3 separate regions of the Homo sapiens genome follow, and all the other regions are linked to region 2. The links are contacts of gene promoters, found by promoter capture Hi-C in blood cells and fetal thymus (Javierre and others, 2016). All regions are on one chromosome and are shown on one strand. The core of a region is centred on a gene start or on the middle of the fragment in contact, and the rest is flanking DNA. Distances in the headings are between cores, read along the strand shown.

Evidence for each region. The method cuts DNA at HindIII sites, captures the fragments that hold promoters and counts their contacts. A CHiCAGO score of 5 or more calls a contact.
Region 1: a fragment that was not itself captured here is called in contact with the fragment with the promoter of KCNIP2-AS1 in region 2 in 4 of 17 cell types (erythroblasts, naive CD4 T cells, megakaryocytes and 1 more); the score reaches 7.0 in erythroblasts.
Region 3: a fragment that was not itself captured here is called in contact with the fragment with the promoter of KCNIP2-AS1 in region 2 in 5 of 17 cell types (fetal thymus, naive CD4 T cells, total B cells and 2 more); the score reaches 7.1 in fetal thymus.

The regions. Positions count from the first base shown.
Region 1 is chr10:100,996,890-101,001,528 of GRCh38, forward strand. LZTS2 (leucine zipper tumor suppressor 2) reads left to right here and starts at 2,919. Exons shown (of 5, transcript NM_001318100.2): 1 at 2,919-3,063. RefSeq lists an enhancer at 1-7 and silencers at 91-380, 2,171-2,580, 2,681-3,060. The HindIII fragment of the contact is 2,612 bases long and covers 1-2,556 here.
Region 2 is chr10:101,815,957-101,820,419 of GRCh38, forward strand. KCNIP2-AS1 (KCNIP2 antisense RNA 1) reads left to right here and starts at 3,112. Exons shown (of 3, transcript NR_045118.1): 1 at 3,112-3,292. It overlaps OGA (O-GlcNAcase), which reads right to left and starts at 2,488. Exons shown (of 16, transcript NM_012215.5): 1 at 1,868-2,488. The coding sequence starts at 2,066. RefSeq lists enhancers at 2,021-2,596, 2,398-2,517 and silencers at 2,048-2,107, 2,188-2,247. The HindIII fragment of the contact is 3,022 bases long and covers 2,567-4,463 here.
Region 3 is chr10:102,498,809-102,503,470 of GRCh38, forward strand. ACTR1A (actin related protein 1A) reads right to left here and starts at 3,904. Exons shown (of 11, transcript NM_005736.4): 1 at 3,792-3,904. The coding sequence starts at 3,839. It also overlaps a transcript of SUFU not described here. RefSeq lists enhancers at 1,888-2,388, 3,783-3,882 and a silencer at 4,233-4,302. The HindIII fragment of the contact is 158 bases long and covers 2,535-2,692 here.

The DNA.
Region 1 (4,639 bases), core at 1-2,500, 820 kb before region 2:
TTCCCCAGGTCAAAAACCAAATCCAGTAAGCTGTGAAGTCAGAGGCCAGAGGGGCAGCCTCGGCCACCGTCGAGTCACTCTTAGGCTGGGCACTGGGTCGGCTGCTGGTGGAGTGCGGGGCAGACCACTCCCCTCCCTGGGTGGGGGGCGCGGCCTGAGCCGCCCCGCCCCGCCCCGCTCCACCAGGTCGGGCCAGGCGGGCGCCGGGAGCTGGGAGCCGGGAGCCCAGAGTTCGGAACCTAGAGTTCGGAGCCGGCTAGGGAGCCGGCGTTGTCGCGGCGAGGAGGTGGGCGCGCTGGAGCAGGAGCGGGGCCGGAACTGGAGCCGAGGCGCAGGTGGCGCTGGGTGAGTGGTGGGGCGGCGGAGGTGCAGGAACTCCCGCCTCCCGCTCATCCCCGCTCCTGAACGAACTTTCCGCTTCTAGGGAAGCTAGGGGTTGGGGTGAGGAGGGGGGTCCGCACTTGGTGGGGTCCCCGCGAAGAGTCCGAACAGGGAAGTGACACGAAAACGCACGCCGACGGGCCCCACACACGCGTGCACAGACCCACGCCCGCACTTGGGACACGCGAACACACATGCACTCGGAAAGGACGCGCCCAGTTGGCCACCCTTGCACTCCCAGGGACAGCGCCAGCCGGCCCGCGCGGACCCACAGCGGGCAGGGCACTCTGCGGTCGCGTATTGGGTGCGGGAAAGGGGCAGCCCTGTGACTACCGACGGGGGCGGGCCGGGTGGGACGCACCCGGAGGTTCCTGCTTCCTGGCCTCCCGCAGGTGAAGACCAAGACGTAAACAGACGCCGAGCACGTGACAGCTCCGCAGACCAGTGGCCTGTGCCCCCAACCCAACCACGGGGCGGAAATCCACCCTAGTCCGGGGCGCGTTTGCTTGGTCCCAGGCCGGACGGCGTTCCATTCTCCGCCTGGAGCGGGGATAAGCCCTCTCCCGGGAACCGGAGCACAGCGCCCCCTGGAGCCGGGGCGGAGCAGGAGGGCCCGGCTGCTGGGCAGGGCTGGGGTTAACTCGGGCTCCTGGACGTCCTTCTCCCCAGCACATTCTTGGTGTCTGCATCCCTGAAGGTTTCGGAGACAGGCCCTTGATGGCAGTGGACAGCTGCCCCCGCCTGTTACCGCCAGCCCAGAGAGCAGCTGCCTGAGCGCCTGCGGGTCCCCTTCCTACCCTCACCTCCACTCCTTGCGGGAGTCGGAGTCTCCTCCCCCCAGAAAATGCATGAGTGTAAACGCTCCCTCAATACCAGAGTGGGCCTGCCCCCCTAGAAAAAGGAGGACGAGCCCCTCCCCCCAGGGAATGAGGGAGTGGGCAGTAGCCCGATGCCTCCTCCTCGCCCCACCCCCTACCCCTACACACACGCTGAGCCCAGCTGCCGCCTGAGCTGGGCAGGCTGCCAGAAAGAGGAGGAGGCTCTCGGTGCCCCAGGAGGCAGGGATCAGGGCAAGGCCAGAGGAGGGGGCTCTGCTGGGGAGAGGGGCTCAGTCTGTTCTTGTGAGGCTGAGGGTCTGGGGTGAGTCAGGGTGGCTGGGCTGTGTTTCCCTTTCCAGGGAAAAAGAAAGAAAAACAACCCTGTCCATGGAGCTAAAAATAGAGCTGAGAGCCGGCCAGGGCTGTGGCCTGGAAGGGGGGGATGCTCCTTCCTGGGGCCCGGGCGAGCTCCGGCAGGCCTTGGCCCTGCGGGGGAGGGGGTGGTTAGGGGAGAAAGGCTGCCTTTGCCCAGGGATGCAGGCATCAGCTGACCTGACCGGGTCACCGAGACCCCTAGGGGAAAGGCTGTGCGGTAGAATATTTGTGAAGCACGGCGTGTAAGAAGTTGTCTGTGTGAGTGACTGTGAATAGAGGCTGTCAATGCGTGAAAGATGGTTAGGAGACTAAGTGCACTTGAGACTGTGACTGGGTGCGAAGGACTGCGGATTGTTGTGGAAGCCTGTGCCCAACAGGCCTGTGACACCGTGTCTGTGTGTGAGGTGGACTGGAAGATTATGGAAAGAAGGAACGCGGACCCACGTGACGGCTGAGACTGCGGCTGCATGTGGGAAAGGTCTTGTGGGTGTTAGGGAGACTGTATTGTGTGCGAGAAGGTGAGACTACTTGACCCTGAGGAAGTGGAATATTGTCTGCCGTGAGGCTGGTGTAGGTTTGGGCTGTAGGCTTGCACCGGTTCGCCCCAGTGATTGTTGGGGAGCCAGGGGCCGCTCCTCTCCGATAAATGACCTCTCTCTTAGCAAGTGATCCCGAGGGGAGGCTGGGGAGCACGCGGTCGCGCCAGAGGCCGGCCTGGGTTCGCGGGGAAAAGGGCACCGTGCCGGGGAGTGGGGCAGGGCCCGCGTGTTGGGGGCGGCTGGGTGTGTTCTCCGAGCCGGCCGCCAGGTGGCGTCGCCTCCGCGAAGCCCAGGTTGCCGCCTCCAACCCGCCGTGGGGCAGGCGCGGATCGAGCCTCGGCCTCCTACTCGGGCTAGGGCGCGGGGTCCCGGCACCGGAGAGTGGGGGACGGCCGGCCATCGGCCTCTCGCTTGGGACTCTGAGGCTGAGAGCGTGTCAGGGAAGCTTCGCCTGGAGAAGCGGAGGGGGAGGGGCGGCCGCCGCCGCGCCGTGGCCCTTTGTGCTGGAACAATGACCAGCTGCCGCTGGCCCCGGGGCCCCGGCTGGGGTTGAGGGTGACCACCGCCGCCGCCGCGTCGAGCCGAACCGAGCCCCCAGACACGCAGTCACAGGGCGTCGGAGGGAGGGCTCCCGACTGCCGCCGAGCAGCCCCTACGTGCGCCCCGGCGGATTCGCGTGACGCGGGTGCTTGCGCGTGTCCGCGCCCCGGGGCGGAGACGCCCCTCGGACCCTCCCCTGCGCGGTGCCGCCCACTCGCACCGGGCGGGGGCTGGCCAGGGCCGGGGGCGCCGCGGAGGCGGAGGCGGGGCTGGGCCGGGCAGCTCCGAGTGGCGGCGCGCGGGCCAGGGCCGGGGCCGGGGCCGGGGCCGGAGCCGGAGCCGGGGCCGGGCGGCGCGCCTGTGGAGCGCTGGGGGCGGCCTGGGGCTGAGCATGGAGCAGCGCGGCGGAGGTGAGGGGGGCCGGGTCTGGGAGGCGGCCTGGGGAGCCCCCAACTTATGCGCGGTGGAATCCAGCCGGGGGGACGGCGTTCCCCAGTCGCCCCCACTTTCTGGAAGGGGGGCTGGACTCTGGAGAATGGGTCAGGGGCTCCTGGCTTCCCGCCGCAGAATGGGAACTCGTGATCGCAGACTTGACCCCGCTTGACTGGTCCTTGGAGTTTGGGTGGGAGGGAGACTTTCCCCAACTCTTCAGATCCGTCTCCGGCCCTGAACCAGCTCCAGCCCTCTGCTCTCCTCAGCCCACTAAAAGGGGGGTGCTCCTGGGCCAGAGTGATTGCTCAGGGAGTGCTGGGGAGAATGAGGGGTTCCCATCTCCCACAGCCACAAACGCATTTCTCAAAATGGAGCCTCCACTTGCCCCTCCTTCTCTTTCGGGCTCCAAGAGCGGGAGCCGGCCTGGCTGGGCCTGGCTTTCCAGACTCCTGGCTCTGGCTCCCTGGATGTGTGGCTCTCAGGGCCCGGCTCTGTGGCACTTTGGACTTATGGGCCCTCGGCTCCGTGGGGTTGGGGGGCCCTGGCTCACTGGGTCCCGCTGGCTGTCCCCTTGTCGGCCTGACCCTCGGGCCTCTCCGAGTCTTTGTCTCTTTTGGGTCCCTGTCTTTCTCTGAGCCTGTCTCCTTCCTTCAATTTTCACTTTCTCCGTGCTCGCTGAAGTGGGGAAATGCAACAGAGGTGCCAGCCCCCTTGGCCCCCTAAGAAGTCCCTTCCCCACTGTTCACTCCACACCCTGGAGTGGGCCCAGAGAGGGGAGGGGAGGGGGTTCTCTATCTGCTCTGCTGGGGGCTGGGGTGTGTGGGGTGGTCTGAGCCCCAGCCCTACAGAGGGGCCTGTGGTCACTCCCTGCTCCTGGCCTACCCCTCCCCCAGCTCCCCGCAGCTCCTGCCCCAGCGTGGACACCTCTTCCTGGTTCGCAGTGTCTTTTGACTTGGGTGGGAAGGAGGGCGGTGGATTTAATGGAGGGCATGCGAGAAAGAAGGGGAACAGATCAGGCAAAGGAGTTAGATAATGTCCCACCTCTCCCCACACGCCGAAGAGAGAAGGAAACAGGCTCCCCCCACCAATGGGCCCTCAAGCCACCCAGGCTCCCACCACTCTCATACCTGCGTGCCCACGTTCACAGGCTCCACTGCACCACTCACCTTCCTAGTCACACACAAACACAGGAGCTCACACATAAACTCATGAACTTACTGACAAGTCTGTCCAGGCACCGTCTCTCCCACACACCACAAATTCACTTGTTAGATCCACATTTATAACTTTCACAGGCTTTCTAATGACCCCTGATCCACATACTCTTCTAAGATATACACATGTGAATTCACACATGAACTCATATGTATGTGAATGAACTGATATATCAAACATGCATAGACTCACATGATGTTTTCACACACATTTTCATACACACGTGTTCATTTTCATGCTCCTGTGCATGTAGTCACACAACAAATAACTAAATGCACACACTCCTACTCCCAGTGCAATTCTCTGTCCACTTCTTGGCCCCGCTCTGCATGATGACTT
Region 2 (4,463 bases), core at 1,862-4,361:
AAGAGAGAAAAAAAAAAAAAAAAAAAAAAAAAAAGCCAGGCGCGGTAGTTCACGCCTGTAATCTTAGCACTTTGGAAGACCGAGGCGGGCGGACTGCCTGAGCTCCGTAGGTGGAAACCTGCCTGGGCAACACGGTGAAACCCGTTTCTACTAAAATACAAAAAATTAGCCGGGCCCGTGTCTGCAGTCCCAGCTACTTGGGAGGGTGAGGGAGGAGAATTGCTCGAACCCGGGAGGCGGAGGTTGCAGTGAGCCGCGATCACGCCACTGCACTCCAGCCTGGGCGACAGAGCGAGACTCCGTCTCCCAAAACAAAAACAACAAAACACACAAAAAATCAGTGCTGGCTCAGGTGCTCAGTCACTAAGAAAATATACAAGGGCACGGGAGGGAGGAGGAATAAACGAGAGAATGGCAGACAACTCTGTTCTTTAAATAGGAAGAATCGCCTTTTAATGCTATTCTAAACAAACGAATTTAAACCAAATGAGTTTTCTCCTTTTATAACTGAAGGTATAATGGACTGGCAAGTTTCCTTAGACTCATTCCAGTCTAGCTCCGAAATTTCCCAGCACTCTCTCATCCCCACTCCAAGATCTTTGATAACAAAAACCAGATTCTTTTTCTAAAATCTCCCTGCACTCAAGCCAATAAATACAACGATATAAGTCACACAATGCAATCATTTTTGATGAATACTATATAGCAGTTTTCCATTCTGTAATCCCCCAAATTCTGCAAGACAGTTAACTTCGCTGAACTCTTTCATGCCTTACTGTAGCAGCAAAGTAGCCTGTTATGGTCTGTACCATAACCACCACCCATTTTTCGAAAGAATACTCTAATTTATATGGTGAAAAAAAACAGAAAAGCTGATGTTCTCAACGTCGAGAGCAATCCTTTTTCCATACCTTTTTGGTTTTTTAAATATATATATTTTTTACCCTTATCCACGCCATTACATACGAGAGAGATATAAAACAGACATCTAGGAAACTCTGAATCGGCCAAAATACTTCAGAAAATTCAAATACATGCTGTAACTGCGGAAAGACTAATAATGTAACCGATTCGTGCCTCTACAGAGCTGCAAGGTGGACTATCTGTCCATTCTCATCCAGAAACTGAAACAAGCATCTGGTAATTTTCCCTCACTACCAAAAAGTCCATCGTTCTTTTCGACTGTAAATGGGAAAAAAGGCGAGAAGGGCATTTTTAAAGCCGCTTCTGCGGTCACTAAATTCCAATTACGCATCTCAGATACTTCGAGAATCTGTGATTAAAGCCAAAGTTTCATCCCTCGAGAGCAAAGTACAGTAGCTGGGAAAGAGGGCAATTTTCTAAGTTGCAAATGAATCTTTGCGGGGGTGGGGGGAAGCAACAAAAATATTCTAAGCCAAGTGGAACTTGAAATACTATAGGCCAAACGTGCTTCTCTTCACTCCAGAAGTACAAGCACGTCAGTGTGGGCCGATTTTCCACAAAGGGTGGTGACAGAAGCACTACACATATTTTTTCACTGGAACCAGACAACCCTAGGGAATAAGATCCCAAGGTACAAAGAAGTAGAACTCAGAGGCTAACAGAACACCAGGCTCTTAACCACCGCCTCCTTAGGAGGTGGCCTGGCTCCAAGCCCAAGACGGGTGGGGTCAGACTTGTGAGTGGCCAGGGGGGAATTCGACGCCGTCTTAAGACGTGCAAGGAGATTCGCCCAACATCTCGTCTCTCCCCTCGCTTTAGGAGGGCCACATTTCAGACCCAGAGGCTTTCCGGCCTTTTAGAGTCTCCAAAATCCCCGCCACCACCCTCCTCCCGAGGACAGAACGTGTTAGTGCCAAAACGGGGAGGGAAGGAGGGCGCTCACCTTCCACCACACCGCAGAGGAACCGCCGAGCCCCTCCTGCAGCCCCGGCCACCGCCGCTCCCCCAGCCCCGGCGGGGTTGTCTTCTCCGGGTGCCGGAGCTGCCGGCGGCTCCAGCGATGCCCCCGCAGAGGCGGCAGGGTTGGAGCTGAGCTCGCTCTCCCGCTCCTCCAACGTCGCTTGACTCTCCTTCTGCACCATCCTCCTGCCCCCGGCCGCTGCCACCTCTGCGGGTCCTCCTCGACCTCTGTCCGTTGGGGCACCGGCCCGGAGCCCTGGAGAGGGCTTCAGCTCCAAGTGTGCGCCCCTCCGGCTCCTTCCCCTCCCCCTCTGCCCTTCCCCCTCCCTCTCCGCAGGGACCCGAATGCCCGGATGAGAAGGGCGGCGGCACCGGCGCGAGCCCTTTGTCAGCCGCAGCCTCGGCTTTAAGCTGGGGCGCCAGAAGCCTAAGCGGAGAGCGAGGCTGTGACCTCTCGTTCCCTGGAAGAAGACGGCCAAGGGTCCTGTCCTCGTTCTCTGCCTCTGCTGCCCTCCCGATAATCTTAGGTCTTCCGCTGTTTCCCCTCCAAGCCCCGAGCTCTCCCTCTGCTGCTGCCTCCACCGCCCGCTTCCTGTTTATCCGCACTGCGCTTGCGCTGCAGACCGGCTCAGACCGGTCCCCTCCGCCCGGCTCCCCCGCCTTCTTTGGGGCTAGCCTATTAAGCTTCTTTAGGTAGGGGGAAATAGAACAGGAGACGCGAAAAGCAGAAGGTAATGAAGGCAGTGGAATGTACCATTTCTGCTTGCCACCCTCCGAAACAAGCCTGGCACCCTGGGACGGACGGACCATTACCCGCCCCGAAGGAGGGGAGTATGGGAGGAGGCTGCCGCCGGTTGGGGCAATAGGGAGAAGGGGGGAAGGTGAAAAGGAGAGGTGTTTATTCTCTCAGTGCGCAGGCGCGGAGCCGCGGCCTCTCGTTCTTAAAGAGATAGGAAAGAACTGACCTACTTTCTATGGAGATTCTTGTAATAGGTGGGCTCATTACATCTGCCTAACCCAGGCTTGGTTCGGTAAAGACACCATTCCAAGGAGCTCAGCTCACCCCTCTGCCTTGAATCATTTTCCCCTAATCCCATTTAAAATGTAATCATTCGTTCATTCCTTCATTCAGTAGACATCTATAGAGCTTGCCTCGTGCTGGGCTCTAGAACACTATGAGCTCACAGTACGGTGGTGGAGACAAGCCACCACACACGCAGTTCCCACAAGGTGTCCCCAAGAACTTCGGAGCTCAGAACAGGTGATACTCACTCCTCCTTTGGGGAGAGGCCGTGGGCATGGCTTCACTTTTCAGCTGGATTATAAAGGATGTGAAGTTAGCCTGACTGAGCAGAAGGGGAGGGAAGACAGCACTCCAGGAAAGTGGAACGAACAACAGAGTCCAAAGGTAGGGAGGCATGAAAAGCCTGCCTTGTTTGGGAATGGGGAGCGCGCGGTGTGTGCAGTGGGGCATGAGATCCCTTCGGCCTCGGCATGGGCATCGCTTCCTTGGGAAGCCTTCCCTGAGCCCTAGATGGGTTTGGGTCTCCTTGCTGTATGTTCTCAGAGCTCTCTTGTAGACCTACCCTAATGCACTTTACATTTATGATGCTTGAGAAATCTATCTCAACCTGTGAGGTATAAACATGAAATGATGATTAAGACTTAGTAATGTCCATCTTACACTTCAGTCTGATATTTACCTTCTTTAGCCGTAGCCCAACTTGTAGTTTCAGGGACTTTCATGGTCCCTCTTCTTTTCAGTCCTGGATTGTTGAGATGGGGGTTAGGAGCAAACTTTTTTTTTTTTTTTGAGACAGAGTTTCACTCTGTCGCCCAGGCTGGAGCGCAGGAGCGCAGTGGCGCAATCTCGGCTCACTGCAGCCTTCACCTCCTGGGCTCAGGCTATTCTCCTGCCTCAACCTCTCGAGTAGCTGAGACTACAGGCACCCGCCACCACACCCGGCTAATTTTGTGTTTTTAATAGAGACGGGGTTTCGCCACGTTGACTAGGCTAGTCTTGAACTCCTGACCTCAGGTGATCCACCTGCCTCGGCCTCCCAAAGTGCTGGGATTACAGGTGTGAGCCACCGCGCCCGGCCGGACAAGCATTTTCTTAAGGGACCTCCTGTGCTGAGAGTTAGGGGCCATAGCAGCTTTACTGGATATTGTGGTCCGTTGGGGTTGAGAACACAATTTTTTTTTTTTTTTTTTTTTTGTAAGAGAAGAGGTCTCATTTTGCCACGCAGGCTAGTGCAATCATAGCTTAAGTATCGAATTCCTGGGCTCTCAAGGGATCTTCCCGCCTTAGCCATCCCGAGTAGCTGGGACTATAGGCGAGTGCCCGCCACCACACTCTTTTAATTTGTTCATTTTTGGTAGAGACGGGGGTCTCAACATCTTGCCCAAGCTGGTCTCAAACTCTTGGGCTCAGGTGATCCTCCAGTCTCAGCCTCCCAAAGTGCTGGGATTACAGACACGTGCCACCTCACCTGGCCGAAAAGAACTTTTATCTGAGGAATGAGAGTCCTTTTAAATTATCAGGCCCAGATGGCTGGGCGCAGTGTTGGTGTTTGCAA
Region 3 (4,662 bases), core at 1,364-3,863, 680 kb after region 2:
TAGTATTCTGATCAAAGTGTAGTCCTCAAAATGTGGCCTAGGAGCTGCTCCTATCTTACACTATTCTCTATGTCTTTGGGAAGAAATGACTTATATTTGGTTTTAAAAAATATCTATCATCATAAAGCTTCTTGGGTGATTAAAAAAATACCTATCACTTTATTGTTGTCATTAAAGCACACACCTACCTGCCCCTCCATTTTCCTCATTAAATTCTGATGAAATGACTTGATGCCAGAGTAAGATGAAAGACGTGGTCACAATTGTCTTATGATTGGGAAAGGCTGTGAACTTAATGGGGCTCTTTCCCTGCTTTCTTTCTCCTGCATTCTTTTGATTATACTCTTCTGCCCATAAATAAAGTGTAGCAACATGTTAAGCTATGGAGTTAACATAGCTAGTGATACATTATTCTCATTATATGTAATAAGTTGTCTCAGGTATTTCAAATAATGTTTCCTATACATCTACCATCTTGAAAATAATAAAAACAAAATGACCCCCCAAATGTTAAACAACAAGGACTACCTGAGACCGCACATGTAAAAATGTGGCAGATTTTCAGCAAATACTAATAGGAAAATGACTTAAGTTTCTCCTACTTCACCTTTTGGCAGAAATACTGGCATAATAAAGGACATGTTTTCCCAGAGGGGGAAAAAAAAGACAAGTCAATTCTTTAAATCTTGAAACTAAAAATGCATCACTGCTGTAATGCATTTCGAAACATACTACCAGGAAAGAGAAAGAAAAAAATTAAGACGCATTAGTGTAAGTGATATTAAAGAAAATGGCCGGAGATGGAACTCCTGCCTAGCAATTCAAGAAGCAAAGGAGCTGGTGGGATAGACAGGTTGTTCCTTCTGCATTGCTGATGAAAACAGGAAATTGAATTTCTATATATTTTTCCTTTTTACAACTAAGAAAAAGGCAGAAGAAGCACAAAGAGCCTGGCTAAAGACAGAAATCGTAGTGCTCTCTGAAAATCAACATCAAGAACAAAAAGTCCTACTCAATTATCTGCAGTAACTAACTAGAGAAAACTCCCCATCTTTTCTTTATTTAGGAATATCTTTGTTACTTTGATAGAGATATTCAGTCATTCATCCAATCACCCATCAATCCAATGAAAAAACATTTATTGAGCACACAGAGGTGCCAGACCCTAGGTATACTGTGTGTGTGTGGAGAGAAGTGGGTGAAGTGAGACTAAAGGAATATCATCTTTCTTAAATTTTTTTTCCCAACACCACTAAACCTGTGGGAGAATATCATCTTTTTCCACAAGGATTTAATAGTCTAGTGAGGGAGACAAAAAGATCCTCTCAAAAATGAAGTATCTGGGCTGGGTGTGGTGGCTCATGCTTGTAATCCCAGCACTTTGGGAGGCCAAGGCGGGTGGATCATTTGAGGTCAGGAGTTCAGGACAAGTCTGGCCAATATGGTGAAACCCCATCTCTACTAAAAATACAAAAATTAGGCCGGGCGCGGTGGCTGACGCCTGTAATACCAGCACTTTGGGAGGCCGAGGTGGGCGGATCACGAGGTCAGGAGATCGAGACCATCCTGGCTAACACGGTGAAACCCCATCTCTACTAAAAATACAAAAAATTAGCCGGGCGAGGTGACGGGCGCCTGTAGTCCCAGCTACTCGGGAGGCTGAGGCAGGAGAATGGCGTGAACCCGGGAGGCGGAGCTTGCAGTGAGCCGAGATCGCGCCACTGCACTCCAGCCTGGGCGACAGTGAGACTCCGTCTCAAAAACAAACAAACAAACAAACAAACAAACAAACAAACAAAAATTAGCCAGGCGTGGTGGTGCACATCTGTAATCCCAGCTACTTGGGAGTCTAGGCTGGAGAATCTCTTGAACCTGGAGGCGGAGGCTGCAGTGAGCTGAGATCGCACAATTGCACTCCAGCCTGGGTGACAAAGCGAGATCCTGTTCCCTCCACCCCCCCACACCAAAAAAAGAGGCGTCTCTGCCAGGCACGGTGGCTCAGGCCTATAATCCCAGCACTTTGGGAGGCCAAGGTAGGAGAATCGCAACAGCCCAGGAGTTTGAGACCAGCCTGGACAACATGGTGAAACCCTTCCTACAAAAAATACAAAAATTAGCCAGGGGTGGTGGCGCGTGCCTGCAGCCCCAGCTACTCGGGAGGCTTAAGCGGGAGGATCACTTGAGCCCAGGAGGTTGAGGCTGCAGTGAGCTGTGATCGCGCCACTGCATTTCAGACTCAGCAACAGAGCGAGACCCTGTCTCCAAAAAAAAAAAAGAAAAAAAAAATGAGCTGTCTCATTGAGCTCAATCCTGCCCCTTTCTAAGGGGGAATAATAAAAACAAAATACCCATGGAGAGAAGGAAAATTTAATGAAAACAACAACAAAAATATATTGGAAAAAGCAAGCAACTTGGAACTGGATCTTAGTCTGATGACTGGCTCCTCAATTCCTAAACTGGATGGTTTGAAATCTGTTATTTAACATCCCTGCATACACTGGGGATAGTAATTCCTATCTACCTAACAGAGCTGAAGCTTAAACGAGAACATTGTAATATGCCTAAGGTCCCAAGAGCTGAATCAACAAAGGGAATCTGACAGAGTCAGCTTACAACAGAGGGAACTGGTAGTTTTGCCTCAATGGAGGGACCTACAAGGGACACAGACAGGGATCAATCTCTGTGGGACCAAAGCTTTGAATCGAAGGCAGAAATGCAGTCGTTTTACAATTTTCTCCTTTCCCCCCAAAATAAGAGCAGTATTTAGATTCTTTCTATTGGTCAATATTGATGCTTCTGCATGGTGGTGCTGGCAAAAGGGATGACGGATAAAGTACTGGATTTAGGGCACCTCTGCTATGTGACCTTGGGCTCACGTTACGTCTTCGCGCTTCAGTTTTCTCATCGGTAACACGAAGATCAAAGTTCCTTTTAAACTATGCGTCCAGTTTTTGTGAGGATCCAACTCGAATGTATGTGAAAACGCCCTGGAAGCGCTAGAGCGCCAGGCAAATATTAAGTTTGGTAATTTTTTCCCCGTAAGAACTAGGCGTTCCAAAGAGGAGGACAACCTCTCTGCTTCCTTTGTCACTCTCCTTTCTTCTCGACCTTTACCAACTTTGTAATTTATAATCACAGTAATAGCTGACATCCTACAGCGGTTTCTGGCACCAGATTCTCGGGCCCCACCCAGATCCACACCACCAAGCCGCAGCGCCGGCTGAGACCGAAGGAAAACTTAGCCGTTCTCCACCCGCGGGCGGGCACTCGCCTCTAGGCCCCACCACCCAGAGTCCCGGAAGCCAATCCCCACAGCCCTGGAGCACTGCCCCGCCCCTTCAAGAGGGAAAACAATATGGCGGCAAGGAAGAATGGCAGGGGCGTGAGCCAATCACCGCAGAGGCCTAGCCTCATCCGGCAAGGCTAAGAGGCGGTATCATTGGCTAAGATGGACAGCCAGAGCAACCAATAGAGCGATCGGAAATGGGGGAGAGGGCGGGCGACGGGAATCTCACACAGCGGTTAAGGCCCCTAGAGCCAAGGGCCCAAGGACTGGCTTGGACTATAACTCTTTCCTTTATCCACTCCAGAGTTCTCCATCCCACTTTTGCTGGCTGGCCGCCTTGCCTGCGGACTATGTGATAAGGGGAGGAAGGAGGCGGCGGTGGCTGAACGCGCCTGACAGGCCGGGCCAGTGACAAAGAGCCGGCGGCTCAGGCTGAACCCCGGGAAGCGATCCTTTCGAGGAGGAGAGCCCAAGTCCCCTTATAGATAGGAAAGACGCAACTCACGTTGTCGATCACGACAGGCTGGTTGGCGATCACATCGTAGGACTCCATGGCAGAGGAATCTCTCCTTCTGGGGAAGGAACTGCCCAGCCGGGTCCGCCGCTAGCGCCACTGACACGCATGCGCAGTCTAGCCGCCGGTTCAGGGCGGCGAGGGAGCGGCCCGACCTCGCCTCTGAAGAACTACAATCCCCAGCAAGCTTTGCGCCTGGGTTAGCGATCTAGCTTGCTTTGTTGCCCGCCTAGTTTAAGATTGGGAGTCGCATTTCCAATGCGCAGTACCCTGGGATTTGTGGTCTCCCTAGATTAAACAGCCAGAGACACAGGTTGATGGTCATGTTGCATGCCTGGATCTGTAGTCCCTTTGAAGGAGTTCGCAGTGCATGCTGAGGTATGTAGTCTTCTCGAGTACTTGTCTGTAGTTCGGTTTGGATTGGTCGTAATTCATGGATGTTTGGATTTTGCAGATCAGCCCTGCCACTCCCCCCGACGTTCCCTTAGACAATATAAGGTTCTCATGTTTTTATTTGGGTCTGTAAGACTTTAATAAACATCTCCTAGCACCTCACACTCTAACAAAAAGGAAATGTTAACACACGTACGCGAGAGGACATATTCCTACAACAAAGGAAAACAATTTAAATTGCATAAAATTAGCTTTAAGTTTAAAAACCTGTACATTGTCGTTGCCTTTTGCATTTTCTTTTTTTCTGCATAACAGGCTAACATTGATCCGAAGATTGGCAATTGGAACTACTGGTATAGGTAATCTTTTGGTCATTAAAACATCATCTAAGGGTTTCAGAAACTGCTCGAGTATCTCTTTAATTTTCATAACGAGCTAGAATTGACACTGATGGTTGAGAAAATGGAGG